2 separate regions of the Homo sapiens genome follow, and region 1 is linked to region 2. Evidence: promoter capture Hi-C in human tissues and cell types (Jung and others, 2019). All regions are on one chromosome and are shown on one strand. Each heading gives the region's core, a stretch centred on a gene start or on the middle of the fragment in contact. The rest is flanking DNA. Distances are from core to core; before and after follow the strand shown.

Region 1 (2,700 bases), core at 71-2,570, 37 kb before region 2:
GATAGTTTGCTGAGAATGATGGTTTCCAGCTTCATCAATGTCCCTGCAAAGGACATGAACTCATCCTTTTTACGCTGTATAATATTGCATGGTGTATATGTGCCACATTTTCTTAATCCAGTCTATCATTGATGGACATTTGAGTTGGTGCCAAATCTTTGCTATTGTGAATAGTGCCGCAGTAAACATATGTGTGCATGTCTCTTTATAGTAGCATGATTTATAATCCTCTGGGTATATACCCAGTAATTGTATTGCTGGGTCAAATGGTATTCCTAGCTCTAGATCCTTGAGGAATCACCACACTCTCTTCCAAAATGGTTGAACTAGTTTACAGTCCCACCAACAGTGTAAAAGTGTTCCTATTTCTCCACATCTTCTCCAGCATCTGTTGTTTCCTGACTTTTAAATGATTGCCATTGTAAATGGTGTGTGATGGTATCTCATTGTGGCTTTGATTTGCATTTCTCTGATGACCAGTGATGATGAGCATTTTTTCATGTGTCTGTTGGCTGCATAAATGTCTTCCTTTGAGAAGTGTCTATTCATATCCTTTGCCCACTTTTTGATGGGGTGGTTTGATTTTTTTCTTGTAAATTTGTTTGAGTTCATTGTAGATTCTGGATATTAGTCCTTTGTCAGATGGGTAGATTGCAAAATTTTCCTCTCATTCTGTAGGTTGCCTATTCACTCTGATGGTAGTTTCTTTTGCTGTGCAGAAGCTTTTTAGTTTAATTAGATCCCATTTGTCAATTTTGGCTTTTGTTGCCATTGCTTTTGGTGTTTTAGACATGAAGTCCTTGCCCATGCCTATGTCCTGAATGGTGTTGCCTAGGATTTCTTCTAGGCTCTTTATGCTTTTAGGTATAACATTTAAGTCTTTAATCCATCTTGAATTAATTTTTCTATAAGGTGTAAGGAAGGCATCCACTTTCAGCTTTCTACATATGGCTAGCCAGTTTTCCCAGCACCATTTATTAAATAGGGAATCCTTTCCCCATTGCTTGTTTTTGTCAGGTTTGTCAAAGATCAGATGGTTGTAGATGTGCAGTGTTATTTCTAAGGCCTCTGTTCTGTTCCATTGGTCTATATCTCTGTTTTGGTACCAGTATCATGCTATTTTGGTTACTGTAGCCTTGTAGTATAGTTTGAAGTCAGGTAGCATGATGCTTCCATTTTTGGTCTTTTGGTTTAAGATTGTCTTGGCAATGCGGGCTTTTTTTGGCTCCATATGAACTTTAAAGTAGTTTTTTCCAATTCTGTGAAGAAAGTCGTTGGTAACTTGATGGGGATGGCATTGAATCTATAAATTACCTTGGGCAATATGGCCATTTTCACAATATTGATTCTTCCTATCCATGAGCGTGGAATGTTCTTCCATTTGTTTGTGTCCTCTTTTATTTTGTTGAGCAGTGGTTTGTAGTTCTCCTTGAAGAAGTCCTTCACATCCCTTGTAACTTGGATTTCTAGATATTTTATTCTCCTTGAAGCAATTGTGAATGGGAGTTCACTCATGATTTGGCTCTCTATTTGTCTGTTATTGGTGTATAGGAATGCTTGTGATTTTTGCACATTGATTTTGTATCCTGACACTTTGCTGAAGTTGCTTATCTACTTAAGGAAATTTTGGGCTTAGACTATGGGGTTTTCTAAATATATAATCATATCATCTGAAAACAGGGACAATTTGACTTCCTCTTTTGCTAATTGAATACCATTTATTTCCTTCTCCTGCCTAATTGCCCTGGCCAGAACTTCCAACACTATGTTGAATAGGAGTGGTGAGAGAGGACATCCCTGTCTTGTGCCAGTTTTCAAAGGGAATGCTTCCAGCTTTTTCCCATTCCGTATGGTATTTGCTGTGGGTTTGTCATAAAGAGCTCTTATTATTTTGAGATACGTTCCATCAAAACCTAACTTATTGAGAGTTTTTAGCATGAAGTGCTGTTGAATTTTGTCAAAGGCCTTTTCTGAATCTATTGAGATAGTCATGTGTTTTTGTCTTTGGTTCTGTTTATATCATTGATTACATTTATTGATTTGCATATGTTGAACCAGCCTTGCATCCCAGGGATGAAGCCCACTTGATCATGGTGGATAAGCTTTTTGATGTGCTGCTGGATTCAGTTTGCCAGTATCGTATTGAGGATTTTTGCATCAATGTTCATCAGGGATATTGGTGTAAAATTCTCTTTTTTTTGTTGTGTCTCTGCTAGGCTTTGTTATAAGTATGATGCTGGCTTCATAAAATGAGTTAGGGACGATTCCCTCCTTTTCTATTGATGGGAATAGTTTCAGAAGGAATGTTACCAGCTCCTCTTTGTACCTCGCATAGAATTCGGCTGTAAATCCATCTGTTCCTGGACTTTTTTTGGTTGGTAGTCTACAAATTATTTAGAGACTGTTATTGGTCTATTCAGGGTTTCAACTTCTTCCTGGTTTAGTCTTGGGAGGGTGTATGTGTCGAGGAATTTATCCGTTTCTTCTAGATTTTCTAGTTTATTTGTGTAGAGGTGTTTATAGTATTCTCTGATGGTAGTTTGTATTTCTGTGGGATTGGGGGTGATATCCCTTTTATCATTTTGTATTGCATCTATTTGATTCTTCTGTATTTTCTTCTTTATTAGTCTTGCTAGTGGTCTATCAATTTTGTTGATCTTTCCAAAAACCAGCTCCTGGATTCATTGATTTTTTGAAGGG
Region 2 (2,700 bases), core at 37-2,536:
TTTAGTATAGAATTATTTCTACTACACCATGATTTTGCCTGGAGTCTTTATTTTTGACATTCCAAATTAATCTGTAATTAGCCATGATCAGTCTTAAACAAATGCGAAAAGTGGGGAAAATGTCTCTGCATTGCCCCCCGACTTTGATTTGTATTACCTGTTTTTTTCCTCTAATGACCTACGTTGTAATAGATGAAAATTCAGTGTGTGTGTGTGTGTATATGTGTGTGTGTGTGTGTAGTTTCTTTTCAAATAAAACTTTGCTTTCATTGGACTTTCATGGCTGGCAAGATTTTAATACATTTATTTCCACATACTTGCTCTCTGAGCTTTGAAATTTGGTTTAATAAAATTTAATAAACATTTAGTGAGCACTCACAATGTGTCTGGTTCTTTGAGCGAGTTATTCCTGGATTCTAGGAGCTCACAGTACAGTGTTTCAGAATGGCAAATATCTAAACATTAGCCTGTAATCTTATGCTCCATATACTGGGTACTACTTTACATAAATATATAAGTAAAGTCAACACATATGAGGCTGTTTTCTTGATAGATCATGGAAGGACAAAATCTGTTCAAAAAAAGATAAATACTATATAAATATCAAAAATACAGTCTTTTTAAGGGATGTTCTCAAGAAAGCAGCTCTATTTTGATCTGTAATAGATTATCTCACATATATATTCACTCACATATACCTTCCAGTTAAAATCATGAAGCCTCATCATTGCAGTTAAAGCAATACATTTGTATTTTTTAAAATTCTTTTTTTAAAATTATACTTTAAGTTCTGGAGTATATGTGCAGAATGTGCAGCTTTGTTACATAGGTACACATGTGCCATGCTGATTTGCTGCACCAATCAACCCATCACCTGCATAGCGTATTTCTCCTAATGCTATCACTCCCCTAGCTCCCCACTCCCCAACAGGCCCCGGTGTGTGATGTTCCCCTCCCTGTGTCCATGTGTTCTCCTTGTTCAACTCCCACTTATGAATGAGAACATGCAGTGTTTTGTTTTCTGTTCTTGTGATAGTTTGCTGAGAATGATGGTTTCCCGCTTCATCCATGTCCCATTTGTAAAAATGAAAAGGATAATTGTGGGAGGATATTCTAAACACTTCTTTTCTAATGAGCTGCTCTGTGTGAGGCCCTGGTCAGGGAAAACGTGGTCGATAAGGCATCACATTTTTGACATGGAGCTTCTGACAAATAATCTCAAATTTATCACTGACCCTTTTGTTTGTAGGCTCCGACACCTGAGTCCAACACCTTCAGAAGAACACATGAAAAATAAGAACAATGTGACTGAATTTATCCTCTTAGGGCTCACACAGAACCCTGAGGGGCAAAAGGTTTTATTTGTCACATTCTTACTAATCTACATGGTGACGATAATGGGCAACCTGCTTATCATAGTGACCATCATGGCCAGCCAGTCCCTGGGTTCCCCCATGTACTTTTTTCTGGCTTCTTTATCATTCATAGATACCGTCTATTCTACTGCATTTGCTCCCAAAATGATTGTTGACTTGCTCTCTGAGAAAAAGACCATTTCCTTTCAGGGTTGTATGGCTCAACTTTTTATGGATCATTTATTTGCTGGTGCTGAAGTCATTCTTCTGGTGGTAATGGCCTATGATCGATACATGGCCATCTGTAAGCCTCTTCATGAATTGATCACCATGAATCGTCGAGTCTGTGTTCTTATGCTGTTGGCGGCCTGGATTGGAGGCTTTCTTCACTCATTGGTTCAATTTCTCTTTATTTATCAGCTCCCTTTCTGTGGACCCAATGTCATTGACAACTTCCTGTGTGATTTGTATCCCTTATTGAAACTTGCTTGCACCAATACCTATGTCACTGGGCTTTCTATGATAGCTAATGGAGGAGCGATTTGTGCTGTCACCTTCTTCACTATCCTGCTTTCCTATGGGGTCATATTACACTCTCTTAAGACTCAGAGTTTGGAAGGGAAACGAAAAGCTTTCTACACCTGTGCATCCCACGTCACTGTGGTCATTTTATTCTTTGTCCCCTGTATCTTCTTGTATGCAAGGCCCAATTCTACTTTTCCCATTGATAAATCCATGACTGTAGTTCTAACTTTTATAACTCCCATGCTGAACCCACTAATCTATACCCTGAAGAATGCAGAAATGAAAAGTGCCATGAGGAAACTTTGGAGTAAAAAAGTAAGCTTAGCTGGGAAATGGCTGTATCACTCATGAGAATGTGACATTCATTCTTTCACAGAAGCAAGGAACAATTTCACTATCCTATCTGATTACATTTCTGTTATCATTTCCTTTTAGTTTTTTAGCTTACTTATTCTGAAGCAGTCATATAAATTAATATTTGTCTAGGTGTAATATGTTACACCCATTACAGACCAAGAAAATTGCATAGGTTTAACAGTGTGTACTGTTTTTGTAATCATACTGTGTTAAGATTCTTTGGTTGATAACAATATTTAGTTTTATTTCAAGCTCTTTTTTATTTAAAAATCATTTATTTATTTTTCTTTTTTATGTATTTTAAATTGTCAATAATTGGGTATATTTATGGAGTACAATGTGATGTTCTGATCTATGTATACATTATAGAAAGATTTCATCAGTCTAATGAATATATCTGTCACCTCCCCAACATTGATTTTTTGTGTGTGGTAACATCAAAAATCTATTCTTCTTTATGGTC

Evidence for each region. The method cuts DNA at HindIII sites, captures the fragments that hold promoters and counts their contacts. A contact is called where the count stands out against the background at its distance.
Region 1: a contact is called between a fragment that was not itself captured here and the fragment with the promoter of OR4A15 in region 2, in 1 of the 25 tissues and cell types used here (mesenchymal stem cells).

Annotation. Positions count from the first base shown.
Region 1 is chr11:55,329,560-55,332,259 of GRCh38, forward strand. No RefSeq gene overlaps it. Among named protein-coding and RNA genes, the nearest start is that of OR4A16, 12 kb to the right of the region's middle. The HindIII fragment of the contact is 3,441 bases long and covers 1-2,700 here.
Region 2 is chr11:55,366,688-55,369,387 of GRCh38, forward strand. OR4A15 (olfactory receptor family 4 subfamily A member 15) reads left to right here and starts at 1,287. Exons shown (of 1, transcript NM_001005275.2): 1 at 1,287-2,231. The coding sequence starts at 1,287. The coding sequence ends at 2,231. The HindIII fragment of the contact is 5,098 bases long and covers 248-2,700 here.